7 separate regions of the Homo sapiens genome follow, and all the other regions are linked to region 1. Evidence: promoter capture Hi-C in 16 types of primary human blood cells and fetal thymus (Javierre and others, 2016). All regions are on one chromosome and are shown on one strand. The core of a region is centred on a gene start or on the middle of the fragment in contact, and the rest is flanking DNA. Distances in the headings are between cores, read along the strand shown. Region 1 holds the start of BLK (BLK proto-oncogene, Src family tyrosine kinase). Region 2 has its middle 5.0 kb from the start of DEFB135. Region 3 has its middle 13 kb from the start of DEFB136. Region 4 has its middle 21 kb from the start of CTSB. Region 5 holds the start of CTSB (cathepsin B). Region 6 overlaps NEIL2 (nei like DNA glycosylase 2). Region 7 overlaps GATA4 (GATA binding protein 4).

Evidence for each region. The method cuts DNA at HindIII sites, captures the fragments that hold promoters and counts their contacts. A CHiCAGO score of 5 or more calls a contact.
Region 2: a contact is called between a fragment that was not itself captured here and the fragment with the promoter of BLK in region 1, in 4 of 17 cell types (M1 macrophages, M0 macrophages, M2 macrophages and 1 more). The highest score is 8.0, in M1 macrophages.
Region 3: a fragment that was not itself captured here is called in contact with the fragment with the promoter of BLK in region 1 in 2 of 17 cell types (monocytes and total B cells); the score reaches 6.0 in monocytes.
Region 4: a contact is called between a fragment that was not itself captured here and the fragment with the promoter of BLK in region 1, in 1 of 17 cell types (total B cells). The highest score is 6.2, in total B cells.
Region 5: a contact is called between the fragment with the promoter of CTSB here and the fragment with the promoter of BLK in region 1, in 1 of 17 cell types (total B cells). The highest score is 8.6, in total B cells.
Region 6: a fragment that was not itself captured here is called in contact with the fragment with the promoter of BLK in region 1 in 2 of 17 cell types (total B cells and naive B cells); the score reaches 6.8 in total B cells.
Region 7: a contact is called between a fragment that was not itself captured here and the fragment with the promoter of BLK in region 1, in 2 of 17 cell types (naive B cells and total B cells). The highest score is 7.2, in naive B cells.

Annotation. Positions count from the first base shown.
Region 1 is chr8:11,492,946-11,495,788 of GRCh38, reverse strand. It overlaps BLK (BLK proto-oncogene, Src family tyrosine kinase), which reads right to left and starts at 1,402. Exons shown (of 13, transcript NM_001715.3): 1 at 1,198-1,402. RefSeq lists enhancers at 1,091-1,180, 1,191-1,380, 270-1,469 and cis regulatory regions at 1,089-2,709, 2,783-2,843. The HindIII fragment of the contact is 7,699 bases long and covers 313-2,843 here.
Region 2 is chr8:11,985,818-11,988,660 of GRCh38, reverse strand. No RefSeq gene overlaps it. Among named protein-coding and RNA genes, the nearest start is that of DEFB135, 5.0 kb to the right of the region's middle. RefSeq lists an enhancer at 1,761-2,261. The HindIII fragment of the contact is 1,648 bases long and covers 525-2,172 here.
Region 3 is chr8:11,960,596-11,963,438 of GRCh38, reverse strand. No RefSeq gene overlaps it. Among named protein-coding and RNA genes, the nearest start is that of DEFB136, 13 kb to the left of the region's middle. The HindIII fragment of the contact is 397 bases long and covers 1,199-1,595 here.
Region 4 is chr8:11,887,599-11,890,441 of GRCh38, reverse strand. No RefSeq gene overlaps it. Among named protein-coding and RNA genes, the nearest start is that of CTSB, 21 kb to the right of the region's middle. The HindIII fragment of the contact is 3,746 bases long and covers 1-2,843 here.
Region 5 is chr8:11,866,837-11,869,679 of GRCh38, reverse strand. It overlaps CTSB (cathepsin B), which reads left to right and starts at 1,593. Exons shown (of 10, transcript NM_001908.5): 1 at 1,593-1,679. RefSeq lists silencers at 1,440-1,559, 1,700-2,029 and an enhancer at 2,120-2,329. The HindIII fragment of the contact is 8,989 bases long and covers 1-2,843 here.
Region 6 is chr8:11,777,972-11,780,814 of GRCh38, reverse strand. NEIL2 (nei like DNA glycosylase 2) reads right to left here. Exons shown (of 5, transcript NM_145043.4): 3 at 865-1,217. Among named protein-coding and RNA genes, the nearest start is that of NEIL2, 9.7 kb to the right of the region's middle. The HindIII fragment of the contact is 2,858 bases long and covers 1-2,770 here.
Region 7 is chr8:11,752,559-11,755,401 of GRCh38, reverse strand. It overlaps GATA4 (GATA binding protein 4), which reads right to left. Exons shown (of 7, transcript NM_001308093.3): 5 at 269-356. Among named protein-coding and RNA genes, the nearest start is that of LINC02905, 7.3 kb to the left of the region's middle. The HindIII fragment of the contact is 7,301 bases long and covers 1-2,843 here.

The DNA of each region.
Region 1 (2,843 bases), core at 153-2,652:
TTGTTAAAATTTCACCTATTTTTCCACTAATGACCTTTGCGGTGTTGCTTTAGGATCCAATACAGGATGCGAATTCTGGGTTTGGGTGTCCTGACCATCATGTCTCCTCTGATCTGTGACGCTTTGCCTGTCTTTCTTTGTTTTTCATGACCTTGACATTTTTGAAGGTGAAATATGTTGTGGAATCTTCCCCAGTTTGGATTTGTCTGATGTTTTCTCATGATTTGACTGGGGTTATGAGTTGGTGGGAAGAACCGCACTGTCGTGGCAGTTCACAATAGCAGCCCAGCTTATTCCCGGTGATGCTAAGCTTGGTCCCTTGGTGAAGCTGGCATCTGCAGGTTTCTCCTCTACAGAGCTACTATTTCTCCCTTTCCATACTCTTAGTCCAAACCTCACTCAAGGTGAGGGGAATTAAGTCCCACTCTCCCGAGGGAGGAGGATATGCACATATCACAGCAATTTCTTCTGTTACTGCAAACGCACAATTCCTTAGTTCCTTGGTAATGTGGGTGGATGAGGGTGAACTTCATCCACCCGCATTACCAGATAAATGGAAACGTTGTCAAAACCTTACAATTTACACAAATCCTTTCAAAATATGTGATCAACTATGCTTTCCTTTTCACAGTTGGTGTTTCCTGGTGAAATAGATCTCTTAAACAAGAAGATCATCATTACATCTATTCAGTTACCCCATTCCTGAATGCCTGAAAAATGGAACAACTTCATTCAGAAACAAACAAATAAAACGAAAGCAACAGTCATTTGCCTTGAGCCAGATGCTCCCCGCCTGTGACCACTAACCTCTGTCAGCTCTGCACAGTCAATATCACCTCCTATCAAGAGGCCGAGTGACTCGCCGGGAGCGCAGCAGTGGCCTGTGTGTGCCCGCTCAACCCCCTCTCTACATCCCACGTCCCTTCTCTCCTCTGTGGCACATTCACTGCCTTTTCCAAAAAGCAGAATCTACCCTGGATGGATGACCTTTTATAAATTAAAAATTCTCAAAACTGGAAATGCACAAACCATGGAGCAATCTATTCATAGCTGAGGCAGCGATCCATTCATGCCTCTTCCTCCGTCTGTGGCACCCACAGCAATGTCCTTGCTTGCTTGCCCCACTACAGGCCTTACAGCACCATTTGCACAATTTAAAGGAAGACGATAAAGAACCCGGAAGACGCAGGGCCTCACCTTGGCAATGCTTCAGTGGTGTTTCACCATAGCTCTTCAGATCCTGACACCCTTACAGTGGAGCAGGCTCCTAGCGACAACGAGCAACTTCCAACACCATCCTAAAGCAAAAGCCAGTCCCAGATGAATTCTTCTCATCTCAATCAGTTTTCATGGCTTGTGGCTTTCTGCCGGCAGCAGACAGAGGTGGCAGCACCCCCGGTCTGCGATCAGAGCCTCCCCAGTCCCCAGTGAGCAAGTGCAACAGGGGCCCCGCCCTCCAGCCGAGCCCTTCTGAAGCTCCTGTGGGCTCCCTGGGTTTGGGGGTATCCCTCTGCTCCAGGAAAACTCGTGAGGAAGGACCATGAGCAGCTGCCCTGTCCCTGGCCCTGGGCAACGTGGGTCACAATGCCCTTCTGTCACCAGAAAGTTTTCTCCTGGGGTTTTGGTTTAACAGCACGGCTGGTATTTTTTCTGCACCAAGTCCGGCAGAGTTAGCAAACCTCCATGCTGACTCTACAAGGTAATTTGCCCTGCCGTGTGGACAAACGCTGCAGATCTCATGGAGAGGGCTTGGGCTCTGCCATGTGCCATCTGTGTGCACCAGGGCAGCCGTTCTTTCAGCCTCACTGGTTTTGCTTTGTCTTTAAATGATGCTAATAATAGCTAGCTCACAGGATACTATCAGCATTAAATGGTAGAATGGGTATGAATGGTGGGCATAGAATTGGTGTTTGGTAAAAGCTAATTTCCCATGTGTTTTACAGTACCCTAGCCAGTAGTTAGTTGACTTGGATCTCAGAGCCTCTTCAATGGTGGAAATTTGCTTGGCTATGAAAACTCAGAGGAGTAGAGAACAAGAATAATGGAGGTAACGGGAGAAGGATCCCAACATCTAGAGTGGTGAGTGGTGTCTGGAGTGGTGGGTGGCATCCTGTACACAGCAGTCAAAGGACCAATGGGACCAAGAAGGCTTCTGTGATGACGTCAGAGTCTTGCTGGTCCAGCCAGACACAGTGAGCCACTGGTCAGCTGGTTCCTTTCCACTAGTGTCTTGATATTGGCTTATAAGAGGAAGTCACTCGGTGGGCTCTCTCTTCTCCCTTCATAGTCTTGGATCCTTGAGAGTGGGTGTGGGAGGCAGACAGGGTAGCTTCTACCCCATGGTCCAGAATGTCAGCTTTCTCAAGGAGTTCATTTCCTTGGATTGGACTGAGACAATACTGAGCTATGAGTTGCAGGTTTGACAGGTGTTCATGTCAATAGACGCAGCAACGCAGAGTTCTGGGGTTTTAAGACACTATGGAAATAATCTGTTTCACTTCCCCAAGGGGTTTTGTGAGAATAAATGGATTCATGCATAAAAAGTATCTATTACAGTATTTAGCACATAATAAACTGCAAATACCTGGAAGCTGATGTGAATGTGGCTAATTGCTTTAAATCCCAAAGCTGATCTTCTCCACGTGGTAGCAGAGGGCTCACAACAATGTCCAGAACCCTGGGCCTGCTCAGTCCATGGCAGCTCCTGTTAATTTACTCTTACATTCACTTCCTGATACCTACTACATGGATCCAAACATGAAACATGAGTTCCAAACTCTGCGAGCTTCTGATTTAAAAAGTGACTGATTTGAGATGAGGTAACTTAGTCTTCCTATTTCAAT
Region 2 (2,843 bases), core at 99-2,598, 490 kb before region 1:
TTTTTCATTCAAATCCTGAACTGCTTTTTAATTTCTTTAAGATGGTTTCCACCTTTCTCCAATATCTTCTTGAGTAGCTTAATAATTAATCTTCATATTTCTTATCTGGTATTTCAAAGATTTCATCTTGATTTGAGTCCATTGCTGGATAGCTAGTGTGATCTTTTAGGTGTGTTATAGCACCTTGTTTTGTCATATTACTGGAGTTATTTTTCTGGTTCCTTCTCATTTGGATAGACTACTTCTTCTCGTTATTCTTGAATTTATATTTGATATGACTGTGTTTCTCTTATTTGCTTGTTTGTTTTTAAATTTCTTTTTTCCCCTTAAGGATGAGACTTTAATTCTTATAGTTAATTATAGCCTAATTCAGTTCTTGGTGCTTTAGAGGGTGAAGACCCTTGGTTATAGAGAGTCTTTGTATGATGGTTTTCTTATATGCTAGTTGTAGTAGCAATGTGCTCAGTGTGTGAGCAAGTTCACTGTGTCCTATGGGGTTGGAATGGTAGAGGTCTCTTAAAGCTTATCCCATTCCCCCATAGTGTGGACTTATTTATTTATTAATTTTCCCCCAGTATTTTATTTACTAATTTGATAGTTCAGGCTTCAGGCCAGTAGGGGAGGTGTCCCTGGGTAGGAACCAGCTGTGGCTAAAGCAGGTGGGTGAATGATGTCCCAGGCTTGACAGAGGAGGCCAGAGGAGCTCTCAGTGAGTTACACTGGGGTCTTATTGTGGGAAGGGTTGGAGCCACCTCAGCCCTGCTGCCAGATCACCAGGAAAGTTACCCACCTCTCAGGCATGCTCCTGTCCCAGTGTTCCTGCTGTTCAGGAGCTGACTGACAGGACTTTTTTTCATGACCTTTTTTTCATCTGTAGGAATGTTGATGTTCCAAATAGAGAGGAATTGTGGCTCTGCCTCTCATGCAACCTTGAACCTAGAGGGTGCTCCTCCTGTGGGGATGTGTTCCAGGAAGACTGTCTATAGTTGCACCCACACTAAGCTCCCATGGGAGAAGCCCAACTGTGCCTATGGTGGTGGATAACATGGGAAAGACTTCCTTTTCTCCAAGACCCTTCACATGCGCCAGAGCTGTCTGACTGTTGGGATACAGTGAAGACCTTCCTTGCTGAGCCCAGCACTTCAACTGTGTGTCTACTGAAGGAAGCCTTCCATCTGGTGCTCAAGGCCTGCCTCCTGGATTCTTTTGTCCCACAGGGTGTTCCCTTGATGTGATGCAGTCCTCCTTCCCCTGCAAGTGGGAGTCCCTGGAAGTCCCTGGGAGCCAGGTCACTGTGAGTGTTCTTGCTCCTCTGGGTCTAGCTGCCCAGAGAAGTTGACACACTCGAGGCTGGTGTTGGGGAATGTCTGCAAGGGATCCAGTTATGTGACCTATGCTCAAGTTTCCCTGCAGTGGGTAGCAGCACCAGCTCTAATGGGAGTGGCAAGGTTGTGACACAGATTCTGTGAAATTCCTTTGTTATTGATAGCCTTAGTATGTTAGCTTTCTTGAATGCGGGTTATAGTAGTAATGAACTGGTCATGTGGACGGACTCAGGACCTCCTGTTCAGCCAGAGTGGTGCAGGCAGCAGTGATAGCTGAGATCCCATAGCGGTTTTCTCCTTCCTGGGTGCAATGTTAATCTACCAGGAGATACTGTCAAGGACTGTGTGGGTTGGCCTCCAGCTAGGAGGTGGCGCTTGCAAAAGAGCAGCAGCTGCGGTAGTAGCCCTGGGATTTTTGCTTGCCTGATGTTGCCCAGAGGGGGATACTCTGGTTTCTCCGGACATGGGCGGGGCCATGTCGCTCCCAGGAGACTCTGTCCTTTGCGTTGAGTTACCAGGGCGGGTGGCCGGGCAAAGCCAGGTAGGGGCTGGGTCGGGAGGGCCTGCACACTGGTCTCCGTGTGCAGAGAAAGAAGGAGCTTCTATGGGTATTGGGGGATGGGAGCGGGTCTCAGGCCACTAGGTTAATGTTTCAGAGGGCAGCGTTGCTGCCCCTGCTGCACAGAAGAGTCTGTGCAAGAAGTAGGGAGTAGCAGGCGGTGGTAAGCTCCACAGTTCCTACCCACTTGACAAGGCAGATCCACTCCCACGGTGTTCCACTGGAAGCAGCGAGCTGAGTTCCTGTCAGCCTGTAATCAGAACTCGCGGCTGCCGGGAGTCATAAGCTTTCCCCGCAGAGATTGCAGTCCAGGCGTTCAGGCCACGCCCCTCCCTGTCCGCTGCAAAGCCGGCGTGTTCCCGTGGCTCCTGCACTTGCAGTTTCTGCACCCACGACTTCTGCACCTACGGCTCCTGCACTTGCAGCCCGCTTTTCACCCTCCCCGCCCCGGCCCTGGCCAAGGAAGTTCGTCCCCACCGAGGTTGTACTGTGAACCCCGTTGGGAGATTCTTTCAAACTGCAACCAGCGCCTGAACTTTGTAGCTGGCCGCAAGGCCTCCTGTGAGGAACAGTAAGGAATGGCTGCACTTAATCTACGCTGGGATCTGGAAGTGCATGCAAGGGTCTCCCCCTAAAAGTATGGAATAGTTTATAGTCCATAACCATCCCCAAGTCGGTTCCTGCGTTAGTTCGGGTTAGGGCTTCCCCGCCAGCACCCCCACCTTGTGTCCTGGACTTTCAGGATCCCTAGTGGGGATGTGTATCCCAGAGGCAAATTCACTCTGTCACACTCAGGGGACTCGCAGCCCTTCGACTGACTCAGTGTAGGCTGCAGTCTCCTGCTTCCTTCAAAACATCAATAGATTCCTATGGTTTTCCTGTTCAGTTATTGCGTTGCTTCTCGAAAAATAGTTCACAACGTGAATCTGTACACACTATTTTGTCCTTCCAAGTGGAAG
Region 3 (2,843 bases), core at 148-2,647, 470 kb before region 1:
TCGAATGCAGTGAAAAAAGAAGAACCAGGTTGATTATTTTGGCCTAAGCTTTATCATCTATTAAAAGCTAATCCCAACCCCATCTCCCCAAACTCTTGCTGCCCGGAATGTGTCCAGAAAGTACTCATGGGCTCAAAGATCGAACTTCCAGGGAAGAGAGATGGACATTGCAATTTCTGCCGAGAACCTCAGGACACATATTCCACATCCAACCCTGGGGACCTCCCAAGACAAGTGAGCTCGCTCCTCTTCTCAGCCCTCACTCTGCTCCGATCTCCAGGCTAAAGCACCCAGCTGCGTTGATTCCCAGGACACTACTCAGAGCTGTGTCTGAGCGGCCCCCACTCCTGCTGCACTCCCATTTGTTTCAAGCAGGATATTTCACATCTGGTCCTGCCCGAAGACAGAGAAAGAATGGGATGCTCTTGTCTCTAATCTCAGATTCCAAAATTCCATGAATACAGCTTGAGACCAAACTCATTTTGTGGGAGTTCACACCACTGACTACTCATATGAATTTTCCATCTACAAAAGCCAGTCATGCTTTGTCTCAAAGATGGTAATTAACCTTTACCTTCCCAAAATGGATGCTTATGGTACTGATTTTGGTTTTACCTGAGGGTGCAACCTTCCATTTATCCCAGTTTGACTTCATTTTATTAGACTTGGCCTCTCATGCCAACCTGTTGAGATCGTCTAGGTTTCAGATTCTGCCACCCTCTGGCGTGGCAAGAAACTCATTGTAGGGATGGGAGAGATGGACAGCACCTCTCCCAGGATTTTTTTCTTTAAGAGACAGAGTCTTGTTCTGTCACCCAGGCTGGAGTGCAGTGGCACCATCATGGCTCACTGCAGCCTCAATCCTCTGGGCTCAAGCAATCCTCCCATCTCAGCCTCCTGAGTAGCTAGGACTACAGGTGTGCACGACCATGCCTGGTTAAATTTTAATTTTTTATAGAGATGGGGGGAGGGTCTCACTATGTTGCCCAAGAAGGTCTCAAACTCCTGGCCTCAAGTGATCCTTCTGCCTCAGCCTCATGAAATGCTGCGTTTGGATTACTATTATTTTGGTAGAGAGGTGCAACCAGCTAGGCTTAGGGAACGCCTGTACCCCGCGACTTCATCCTGGGATCCCTGTCTTGAGTTGTGTAAGTTTGGGGCAACAATGAGTAAACTATGAGGTGGGGGAGGTCAAGCTTTATAGGCTTCTGCCCTTGTCTACTGCTGGTTACTTCCTCCTTCACCGGAGCACCTGCCACCCCACTCTCAGCAACGTTCATCTCGAAGAGGCTGAGACAAGCTGAATCCACAAAGGGAATCTCAATTGTAAGGATCAACAAACTTTTTCTGTGAAGGCCAGAGAGTAAATATTGTAGGCTTTGCAGGGCATGCAGTCCACATCACAACTACTCAACTCTGTGATGGAGTCAAAGTAGCTGTAGACAATATATGTGTGAAGCCGTGTTTCAATAAAACTTTATTTATACAAACAGACAGTTGTCAGATTTAGCCCACAGGGTGCAATTTGCCAACTCCTACTCCACTGGGATATTTCAGCTGCTGTGGCCTACCACAGAGCGCCACACAGAGAAGCTTGCACCAAGACTCTGCCCTCAAGCAGCTTCTAATCTACACGTTTGTGAAAGATGAGTAAGTATAGGAAGGGGGAACATGTAATAATATTCTTTCATATCATCACAGCTTTTCCATTCACTCCTAGAGGGTTTACCCTGCACTCGCTGTGTGCCAGGCACTGTGCTCGGCCCGTGGGAAGGTAGAGATGAAGTCCCCACACTGCCCCAGGGAGTGCCCCATTCCCTCTGGAGCTGTGTGAACAAGGCTCTGGCCTTCTCTCCAGGAATACCAAAGGGAGCACAGAGACCAGAGGGCAAAGGAGGAACGGCAAAAATGGAGTGCCTAAATCACCTGCACACCTTCCGTCCTCAGCCCTCCGGTGTGACTTTGGATGACTTATGAGCTCTAAATCTCAGCTCCTCCTCCTATTTGAGGAAACAATGCTTATCCCCAAGGATTGTTATGAAGCTTAAATGACACATGTGCAAAGCACAGGGCCTGAAACAAACTAGATGCTTACTAATTGATACTTTTGTTTCTTTATCTATGAAAGGATAAAAAAATACTTCCCAATGGGGCTGTGCAAGATGGATCACACCTGTAATCCCAGCATTTGGGAGGCCAGGGTGGGAGGACCACTTGAACCTAGGAGTTCAAGACCAGCCTAGGCAACATAGCAAGACCCTGTCTCAAAAAAAATTTTTTTAATTTAAAAATAATTTAAAAATTTTTCAAAAAGCTTTCTGATGAACACTACTGCTGACCATTCCATGCAATTCTGAGTAGTGTTATTCCCTCTAGAGCATCCCAAAATGCCAAAATTCATTCATTTATTCATTCATTCAGGTATTCTTCTTACAAACATATAATTCTCGCCTACTATGTAAGTAGACACCCTCCAAAAAGCCTGGAGGTCTGTCCTCTTTGAGTTTACAGCATAGTAGAGATGATAAACTAAAAAATAAATAAAAATAAACAAGCTAATAATTACAAAAATGGCAATTGTTTGGAAGGAAGAGTGCAGGGAAAGATTTATATATGTACATGTGCGAACGTGTGTACATACATACACACATGTAATGTGCTGCACAACATACGTACCACACTCAGATCAAGGTATCAGATGTTCCCACCACCCCAGAAAAGTCCCTCATGCCATTCTCAGGCATTAACCCTACCAGAGACAACTACTACTCTAAATTCTGTGACCATCAGTGAATTTTGTCTGTGGCTGAACTTGGTGTTAATGGAATCACACTGTGTGCAGT
Region 4 (2,843 bases), core at 115-2,614, 390 kb before region 1:
CCACCAGACTTCATGAGACTCATTCACCATCTCAAGAACAGTGCAGGACAGACCTGCCCCCATTATTCAATCACTGCCCACCAGGTTCCTCCCACGACACATGGGAATTCTTGCAGTTACAATTCAAGATGAGATTTGGGTGGAGACACAGCCAAACCATGTGCAGTGGCACAATCGGCCCACTGCAACCTCTGCCATCCAGGTTCAAGCAATTCTCATGCCTCAGCCTCCTGAGTAGCTGGGATTACAGGCATGTGCCAGCACACCTGGCTGATTTTTGTATTTTTAGTAGAGACAAGGTTTCACCATGTTGGCCAGGCTGGTCTTGAACTCCTGACCTCAAGTGATCTGCCCACCTCAGCCTCCCAACATGCTGATGCCTGGCCCGATTTCTTCTTTTTCAATATAATGTGGAATTATCTGATATCTGGATCCAATTTAGTTGTTTATGGAACTGAAACTTCCATTTATTTTGTGGATTATTTCCAAAAACTGATTGGGACTTTGTGTCCGATTTCATTCGTTTCTGTGTGTCATCAAAAGCTGTATTTGTTATGGAGATTAATAATATGTTCTAATTCCCCAGAACTTAGCCATGTCTAACCCTGATATGGACAAGGTTCCATCACCTTTTATAAGACCTTTACAGTAAGTCTTCAATAAATATTTGTTGAATGAATGAGTAAATGACTGAATGGATGGGTGAATGGACACTTTCGCTGGCTTGGGTTTGGGCAGACAGTAGGAAGTGGGGGCCACTGTTTCACCAAAGGAATCACGCTGGAGAAAATCCCTGCATAGCATTGAGTTGTGCAACTATAAATCTATTCCCATAAATTCCAATCAATCCTGTAAACTTCAGAGCAAAAATGCCAGGCTGTGTTAGTTTGCTCAGGCTTCCGTAACAAAATACCACAGGCTGGGCAACTTAACAATAGGCGTTCGTTTTCTCACAGTTTTGGAGGTTAGAAGTCTGAGATCAAGGTGTTGGCATGGCTGGTTTCTCCTCAGGCTATGCCTTCTCCGTGTCCCCACATGTTGTTGGGTTTTTTTTTTTTTCTGTGTATGTGCAGCCTTCATGTCTCTCCCTCCTCCTATAAGGACACCAATCAGATTGAATTAGAGCCCACCCTAACAGCCTCGTTTAACTTAACTACCTCTTTAAAGACCGTGTCTCCAAAGACTGGGTGTGGTGGCTCACAATGTAATCCCAGCACTTTGGGAGGTGGGAGCGAAAAGATTGCTGGAGCCCAGGAGTTTGAGACCAGCAGGGCAACATAGTGAGGCTCTGTCTCTACAAACTGTTTAAAAAAACAGCTGGGTGTGGTGGCGCATGCCTGTAGTCCCAGCTACTCAGGAGGCTGAGGCAGGAGGATCGCTTCAGCCAGGTAGAAGAGGCTACAGTGAGCTATGATCATGCCACTGCACTCCAGCCTGGGCAACACAGCAAGATCCTGTCTCTAAAACAAAACAAAAATCAAAACCTTATCTCCAAATATAGTCACATTCTAAGGTAGTTGGGCTTAGGACGTCACTGTGTGACTTTGAGGGAAGTCACTATTTAGACCATACCACAGACCAGGCCTCGTTTTTGCAGGCCTTCCTGTCCTTGCCTCTCACCATCAGACCCTGTCAGTCCCCAAGTCAGTTGACTGAGGAGCCTTCTATCAGCAGCCCCAGACCATTCTTATGGGGGTGTGAGGGGACAGTGCAGGTCCCTAGAGGATATGTCCATCTTCTTTACTCTGGGGATCAGCCCAGAGTCTGGGGGCCACAGTGGACCCCTCTGAACAGCTGCTCCCCAACCCACACACTCCCACTCCCTTCAATGGGGCACCTCCCTACACGCCCGGCCCTCCTGCACTGCTCCTCAATTCCCATCCCTAACCTTGTCTCCTCACACAACTCCAAACCCTGAACTGCCTCCCAATGGCCCTCAGATTTAGCAGTGGCTGTAGACAGATTCGTGCAGGCACAAACCCTGATAGTAGGAAGCTCCCGAGGTGCCACTCCGCCCGAGCCCACGAGCATAGCGCTCACCCTTCCGGCGGTCCTCCCTCCCTCGTTGCTGTTCCTCCTCTTCCCCTTCCTGATCCCTCCTTGGATGGCTGACCTTTCAGCTTAAAGTCTCTGGCTCACTCCTGGGACCTGTGGAGAACGTTTTGGTTTGGTTTGGTTTTGGCTGTTCTCGCTACGCTGGTGAACTCTCAGTCCCGTGGAACTGATGCCATCTGTGCACTGATTGATTGCAAATCCATGTCCCCAGCTTGGCTCTCTGTGAACTCCAGACTCAGCTCTGTTCAGTGTCTTGGCTCGAATGTTTAATAAGGCATCTCATTCTTGACATGCCCCAAACTGAGCTCCTGCTCTCCCCCATAAAACTTCCTCCTCTGAAGTCTTCCCCACCCACGTTTATAGCATTCCCATTGTTGCACAACCATCTCCACCATCCATCTCCAGAACTTTCTCATCCCCCAGCTGAAACGCTACACCTATTAAACACTAGCTCCCCCTTCCCCAGCTCTTGACAGCCCCCATTCTACTTCCTGGGCCTGGGCTTTTACTTTGATGGTGTGGGCGCGATTGGTGGCCTTTGAGCAGAGGAGTGTATGATTTGACTTGGGTTTTAAAGAAGCCCTCGGGCGCTGCGTTGAGACTGACATGCCAGGCGTGAGGGAGAAAGCAGGACGCAGGGGGTCATTAGGAGGAGCCCAGAGGCTCAGCCAAAAAAAAAAAAAAAAGAAGCTGGGCGCATTGGGTCATGCCTGTAATCCCAGCACTTTGGGAGGCTGAGGCTGGTGGATCACGAGATCAGGAGATCGAGACCATCCTGGCTAACACGG
Region 5 (2,843 bases), core at 344-2,843, 370 kb before region 1:
TGAAGACAGGCTCAGGGCTGTGTGACAGCTGACGACCAGGCTGCAGGGAACCAGGTCCCATGCAGTCCTACTGCCTTTTTTTTTTTTTTTTTTTTTTTTTTTGAGGCGGAGTCTCGCTTTTCGCCCAGGCTGGAGTGCAGTGGCACGATCTCAGCTCACGGGTTCACGCCATTCTCCTGCCTCCGCCTCCCGAGTAGCTGGGACTACAGGCGCCCGCCACCACGCCCGGCTAATTTTTTGTATTTTTACTAGAGACGGGGTTTCACCGTGTTAGCCAGGATAATCTTGATCTCCTGACCTCGTGATCCGCCCGCCTCGGCCTCCCAAAGTGCTGGGATTACAGGCGTGAGCCACTGCACCCGGCTACTGCCTTCTTACTGTCGCCACAGCCTGGATAAAATACGATTCTTCTGAGCCTTTTTTTTTTTTTTAATACAGAGTTTCACTCTTGTTGCCTAGGCTGGAGTGCAATAGTGCGATCTCTGGTCACCGCAACCTCCGCCTCCCGGGTTCAAGCGATTCTCCTGCTTCAGTCTCCCGAGTAGCTGGGATTACTGACACGCGCCACCACGCCCGGCTAGTTTTGTATTTTTAGTAGAGACGGGGTTTCTCCATGTTGGTCAGGATGGTCTCGAACTCCCGACCTCAGGTGACTCACCGGCCTCGGCCTCCCAAAATGCTGGGATTACAGGCGTGAGCCACCGAACCCAGCCCCTCTGAGCCTCTTGAATACAACTGGGGTCATGCCTGCTTTGCAGGTTTGTCTTAAGGATTAAAGCTGTTTGGGGAGTGTCTGGAGGAGGGTGAGTCTTGAGCCAACCCCTGCATCTCCCTTCCAGGGCCTCCCGGTAATAAACCCCAAGTAAATGTGCACTTTGTCCGTCCTCTCGGAGCAGGTCTCCGGGTACTCCTGTGCCAAACCGATTTCCGCCCCCAAGGTCCTTCTCCTCTTAGAAATCCTGACGCAGCTCCTAGGTTCCTTCGCAGTGACAGCCACTCTTTTCTATTTGTACGTAGCTGTAGTGTTTTGTGGGTACGTTCTCTGAACAACAAAGTGGCCCTTCTAAAGGCTGTTCTGTGGGGTCCACAGCCTCGCCACCCCCAGCCTCTGCAGCGGCTTCTGAATGAATGAAATAAGCGACGGCGCCCTCTCCACCACCCCACCCCCGCCAACTCGGCAGGCAGGGATCCCAGGCGCGGGTTCTGGCGGAGGCGGTCCCGCGAGGCGGGGGGACTTTTCTAGGCGGGGTGGGGGCCTTGGGACCACCTTTAGGGGCTTTTTCCCCATCCCCTGGCCCCAATTCGCAGCGTTTCGCCACCCAGGGCCCGCAGGGCTCCAAGCCCTTCTTCCCCAGCCCGCGCGCTCAGGCCCCCGCCCGCCCCCGGCGGTGGCCCCGGACCCCGAGCGGAAGGGGGCGGGGGGTGTGCGGGGCCGGGAAGCGGGGAGCGCGGGCGGCGGAAGGTGGCGGGAGGGGGTGGGGGCTGGGAAGCACCGTGCGCGGGCGGCGGGAGGGCCCGGGCGGGGCTGCGCGGTGGTCACGTGGGGCGGGGCCGGGAGGGTACTTAGGGCCGGGGCTGGCCCAGGCTACGGCGGCTGCAGGGCTCCGGCAACCGCTCCGGCAACGCCAACCGCTCCGCTGCGCGCAGGCTGGGCTGCAGGCTCTCGGCTGCAGCGCTGGGTGAGTGCTGGGGACCCGGGGCCACCGCAGCGTAAGTGACCTTGGCGGGGACGGTGCTACCCGGCCGCCGAGACGGGTTCCTCTGCGCCCTCAGTCGGGCCCAGGCGCGGCCCCGCGGCGTCCCTGGGGGCCGGCGGGGAGCCGGGACCCTCGGGACTGTCCCTGACGGGCGGGCTGGGGTGGGAGTCCGCGCGCTCCGAAGCGTCGGCGAGAAAAGCAGAAAACAGCTCCGCCCGCCAGCCCTCTGCCCTCCGCTCCCCTCCCCGGGCTGTGCGCCGGACCCCGGCCCTCGGAGCGGGGACGCGGCCAGGACCGCCGAGGGAGGCGCCTGCGAGGAAGAGCTCGGCCGGGTCCGGAGACTGCTGCCTGGGACCGCGCTCCCAGCGCCTGGGCCTCGGTGTCTCCGGGCCAAACTGCCGACATAATCGCATCTGCCGGCATCTATTTTCGGTTTATTTCCCCCTCATTGCGAAGGATTTGCCTGGCCAACTTTCTGCGCAAGATCCCACGCAATTCCTGGGACCCCAGAAGACAGGTCCTGTTGAAGAACAGGAATCTGGCACTGGGTGGGCTGGGGAGGAAGCCGCACGGTGTTAAATCCATAAACAGGAAGAGAAACCAGACAGCGAAACCAAGAGGCGAATGGGCGATTGGATGCCGGTGGGGAGAAGGCCGGGGGCGCACCCTGCTCCTGGACTCCAGTAAAGGGAGGCCGGGCAGAGTCCCTGGGGCGCCACCTCCCCCTCGGTTAGTAGCCCTGGAGGCCGGGGGGAGTTGGCCTCTGGGGAGCAGTGGGTGCTGGGTGTGGGGCGTTGCAGGCAGGCTGGGGTGGGCGACCCAGGTGGAAGTGAATTGCACTTGGCTTCCTGGTGGGCCTCTGTCACCCCCTTCCCAGGCGCTGAGAAAGCCAGCAGGCTGGCAAAGAAAAGGACCCTAGCGCAGGCCCCACACTCCTCCTCCTAACGGACGAGAGACCCCCCAAACCCACTGGAGAAGTGACGCTGTGGGGTTCAAATGCAGACCTGGCACCTTTTTGTAGCCTGGAAAAACATTCCCACTGCCTGCTGCCGGAGGAGAGGATAGCTGAGATGCACTCTCTTTGAATCCAAACGTTCAGGAACGTAAGGCGAAGAGGCCTAAGAGGGCGTTGGCTGGCTCTGTCTC
Region 6 (2,843 bases), core at 92-2,591, 290 kb before region 1:
AGCCCTAAGAATATGCATTCCCTCTGACCAGCAATTACTCCTCTGGGAATTGACACTGAGGACATATCCTAAACCTAGATAGAGTCTTATGCATAAAATGTTGATCTCAACATTCATAGATTATAAAAACTGGGGCCAAGCATGGTGGCTCACGCCTGTAATCCCAGCACTTTGGGAGGCGGAGGTAGGCGATCGCTTGAGGCCAGGAGTTCCAGACCAGCCAGCCTGTCCAACATGGTGAAACCCCGTCTCTATTAAAAATACAAAAGTTAGCCGGTGTGGTGGCACGCACCTGTAGTCCCAGCTCCTCCGAGGCTAAGGCAGGAGAATTGGTTGAACCTGGGAGGCAGAGGTTGCAGTGAGGCGAGATCGTGCCACTGCACTCCAGCCTGGGCCAACAGAGCAAGACTCCGTCTCAAAACAAAGCAAAAAAACTCATCAAGCTGAATACTTAAGATCTGCATTCTACTGAATGTTAATTATATCTCAATAAAAAATAAACACACAAACAATATACTTAAAATAAAACTGGGAAAATCTTCTCCCTAAATTCAAAGCACACTAGTCAGGAGTCAGGCAATAAAATGTTCTTCAGGGACAGTCCCCCCTCAAGTGCCACATTTGCTGGGAAAATTCTCCCCTTCTCCCAGCCACCTCTTGGTGCACAACCCTCTCCTGCATGCAGACCACAGTCTACTTCCTATCACAGGTAGATACAGAGGTGGCCTCTCTCCCCAAGACAGCAGGGCCCTGGGGGGCAGACTGGACGTCCTCAGTATGTCCCCACTGCTGAAGTCCCAAACCCCACCAAGCAGGGCCCTATGACTATCAGAGCCCACGAAAATCAGATGGCCACACCATTACCTCGGGGAAGGGTCCCTCCAGTCCCCCCTCTTGTTGGCTTTCTTGGCTCTGGAGAAATCGTTCACCCAAACGCTGCCAAACAAACCAAAGCTGACACGCAGCCACCTCCCAGCATCTCCTGCAGGGGCGTCTCTCTCCAAATACTCAGAATCATCCTCGCCCTGGGGGACGAGCTCTGCAGACCGTGAGGATCCATCAAGGGTCTTCTGCCCGCTGGGCTCCCCGACCTGCTTTGGGTCCGCAGCCCCTTCCTTCTGCACTTCTTTTTGTGGAGGCTCTGGTGTTGGGCTGCTGCCAGGGGGCCCCATTTCTTCATCTAGATCAAATCTAAGGAATAATTTCTTTCCATGGACCTAGAAAAAATGAACAGAGATCCAAGCCTTACAGACCCAGAGAGGGGAACTGGGGAATGCGGATATTTATCCTATTGCAAAGGTCTTCCTTCTCACCCCTCCTGGGGGGCCTTCCCAAATGAAGTCTTTGGACTCTGCCTTTTGCTCTTTTGCTCCAGTGGTGTGAGCAGTTCGCATGTGGTTTTCAAAGTGACTGGGAGCAAGGAGACTTAGTTGGCAGTGAAACACACCCATGCAAGATGGCAAGGCCACCCTGGAATACCTGAAGGGAATCGCTCCCAATTTTTTCATGCAGTAGCTAAGAAATGAACATAAGTTGTCATTCCTTCATTCCATTCGTAATACATTTTCTATGCCAGAAATAAGCGGTGCGTGGGAATGCACACATACAGAGCAGCTAAAGACAACACCCTGTGAAACTGGGTACCCCTCGCTACCCCCTCCACCAGCATATTGGACTTGATAAGGAAACTGTAATCAATAAAAATTAGATACTGAAACAAAAATTGATCAGTGAATCAGATCACCACTCTAAAAAGTATAAGGCAAAGGACCCACCTCATCTCACTGAAAATGATTTCAGTAGAAGAAAATAAATATAGAAAATGTGTGTTAAAGGATGTTCTGCTGTCTTTTTTTTTTTTTTTTTTTTTTCAGATGGAGTCTCGCCTAGACTGGAGTGTAGTGGCACCATCTTGGCTCACTGCAGCCTCCATCTCCTGGGTTCAAGTGATTCTCTTGCCTCAGCTTCCCAAGTAGCTGGGACTGTAGGTGCACACCACCACCCCCAGCTAATTTTTGTATATTTAGCAGAGACCACGTCTCACCACGTTAGCAAGGCTGGTCTCGAACTCCTGACCTCAAGCGATCTGCCCGTCTTGGCCTCCCAAAGTGTTGGGATTCCAGGCATGAGCCACCATGCCTGGGCCCTTGCTTTGACTTTATTTTCATATTGCACCTCCTGATATGCAATATGTAGGCCTAGATTCCAGGATGAGTCAGTTCTACACAGCCTGAAATTCAGGCAGTCTTTCAAGGAGTATAAACCAAAATATCTGGCATTAATACTGGAAATGCCTGTGTTACTTTCTTGACCACTACAGGTCCGTGCTTAAAGATCACTGTTCTGGTATGATCTTTAACTTGTTAATTAGTACACAAATTAATCTTGAAGTCCTCCACCCAAAAGAGCATTACCTTTCGAAATAATCCCAGAATAGCTTATCTGTAAATCTGAGCACAGATTGTTATCTGCCACATATTAGAAATGGTTTAACTGACCTACATAAAAAAAAAAAAAAAAAAAACTGAGCAAGGATTTAAGTGGGCATAATAGAATTTGCTGCAGAAAATATTTCTTGGTATAAACTCACCAATGTTGATATAATTCTGATGAAAATAACTGTCAAATGCCCATCATGAACAAAACATTTACTAGGTCAAAAATGTCTAGGTCAGGATGTCCTCATACCAACTATGGCAATTTCTGCTGTCCCTCTTTTGGGTTCCTGTGACACTGCAGCCACTTCAATTCACTAATCATTAATTAAGCTTATTCAATGTGCCTGGCAGTGTGCTAGGCTCCAAGGGCAAACAGATGAATAAGGCTCTGCAATGCTTTCAATG
Region 7 (2,843 bases), core at 1-2,500, 260 kb before region 1:
GGTCCAGCCTGAGCACTGGGTCTTTGCAGTCGGCAATGATCAGGCCCCAGCTTGAGTTGAGCCTGCTTCGAAAGCTCCCAACACGTTCCATGGCAATTGTTACTTTTTTGCTGGGCTCTTCATCCTGTCCTGAAAGGCCAGGGATGTCCGATGCTGTCACCACCCCCTGGCGGCCCGGGCTGGCCTGCCTAACCCGGAAGATATGATTCTTAGGCACTCTGAGGGCTCCTGATGTACTCATATAATCACTCACAGATCTTTTCCTCACCTGCTGGTGTCTTAGATTTATTCAGGTTCTTGGGCTTCCGTTTTCTGGTTTGGATCCCCTCTTTCCGCATTGCAAGAGGCCTGGGGACCTGGAGGGTCACAAGTAAATATATAGGGTTTTCCATTTCTGCGTAGTCTGCTACAGCATTGAAAGACACACACCTGCTGCGAGAAGGCAACACCTAAGCAATCTCTCCACAAAGCCTGGGGCCCAGACGGGCTGCACAGGCCCCTGGAACTCAGCGAGAAAGAAATCAATTCCATTTTTAAAAAACTTATCGAGCACCTGTGTGATGTGATGGCTACTTTACTAGAGCCTGGAGAATAGGGAACTAAAGACACACAGCTCCTACCCTCAGAAATTCACAGACAAGGAGAAATAACCAGACTCTGGTCGGTGATGTAAAAAGACAGAGAAACACTAAACTCTGTCCTGGGGTGAGGAGTGGGAAGGAGGGGCACGTGAGGATATCAAGGAAGGCTTCAGTGTGGAGGTGACACCTGAGTTTGTAAAAGGTTTTGAGTAGACAGAGGCAGGCATTTCAGGCAGCAGAGACAGACTGTTCAAAAGCCTTTATCATCCACACAAGGACCCTGAAAACAAAAAGTGGGTGCTAGGCCAGGCACAGTGGCTCATGCCTGTAATCCCAGCACTTTGGGTGGCCGAGGTGGGAGGACTGCTTGAGCCCAGGAGTTCGAGACCATCCTTGGCAACATAGTGAGACCCCATCTCTACAAAAAAGTTTTAAAATTAGCTGGGCACGGTGCTGCATGCCTGTAGTCCCAGCTACTCAGAAGGCTGAGATAGGAGGATCCCTTGAACCCAGGAAGTCGAGGCTCCAGCAAGCCGTGATCGTGCCACTGCACTCCAGCCTGGGTGGTGGAGCAAGGCCCTATCTTCAAAAGGTGTGAGGGTGCAGCGGTGCTATCAATTATTGTGCTGGGAAAATTGGCCTCAACAGCAACAGTCCCAGTGAGTTGAGATGTAACATCACTCTACTTATTGCAGCTCTGTACTGCATTGGGTCTGGCTGGAGCCATTGGTGCTTCTGTGAATGGTGGGGAGCAGTAAGAGACTATGCTAGAGACTGCCCTGTGACCAGGTTCTGAGATAAAATGTCCCTGGACAACACTTTGACCACAGTTCTGTTGGGAGGCAGGCCCCAGAGCCATTCACAGATGCCTAAGCCAGTCCTGGGGAGCAGGACTGCAGGGTGCCTTCCCCACATCTGGTTTCTCTTAGGCTGAGCCAAATCTTTTAGCCCCTTTTCTATGCTGTGCTTGTCTACCATGTGGGATTGATAAAGGCCACACCTGCAAATACAGAAAGAAAAGCAATTACTGCTTCAGAGACATGAACACGCAATGGTTAAGCGAGAAATGCACCAGCATATGTGAACTTGAACTGGCCTCCTATTTAACTGTGGGTAGATGGGGTGGCACTTGCACCCCCCGACCCCACCATCTGCACATCTCTCTGTGACTCTACACCCAGACCCCTATTTCCCACCTTGTGGAAGGGTGTCCTCCCCCACCCCATCCCCCTAGCTATGCCTCAAATGTTCAAACCCATTCTGGCCTCAGAAGAATCTCCCCCTCACGTTAATCTCCATTCACTTAGGTATGCTTTTTTTTTTTCAGTTGCAGTAAAATGAAACACACCTAACTTAAAATTTACCATCTGAACCATTCTGAAGTATATTGCTCTGTAGTGTTAAGCGCATTCACACCGTTCTGCAAGCCTGACCACCATCCCCAGAACTCTTCTCGTCTTGCAAAACTCAAACTCCATACCCATTAAACATCACTCCTCATTCCCCCTTTCCCTAGCCCCCGACAGCCTCCATTCTACTTTCTGTCTCTATGGATTTGACATGTGGTGTCAGGGGCCAGAATTCCCTTCCTTTTAAAGGCTGAGTAATATCCTACGTGTATGTATATCACACTGTGTTTATCCGTTCATTTCTCCGTGGACACTTGGGTTGTTTACATCTTTCTGCAATTGTGAATCATGCTGCTATAAACAGCAGTGTACAAATAGCTCTTTGAGGCCCTGCCTTTAATTATTTTGGGTATATATCCAGAAATGGTACGCTGGATCATGTGGTAATTCTATTTTTTTATTTTCTGAGAATATAATCTTTTTAATACCTATATAATATTTCCCAATAAGTTTCTTGTACCATTCCCATATTGAAGAACAATAGTTTAACCATTTTCCTTCCAAAGGTTTTCTTTCCTCCATTTTTGCTATTACAGTGATTAACAAACATCCTTGTATACATGCTTTGTAGAAATATTTTCTTATGAATGTTCATAACTTTAGCCATTTGCTTGTTCATTATAACAAGAAATCATGAAAAGATACATGAGACTAAGTTAACAACAGCCCTCTCACTCTACTACCGTCAATCCTATCCCAGTGAGGCAAATGGATTTAACAGCCTGTTATATATTCTTACATTTAAAAAAATTCTCAAACATCTGTACACATATATATCTATTGACTTGGTTTGGCTGTGTCCCCACCAAAATCTCATCTTGAATTGTAGCTCCCATAATTCCCACATGTTGTG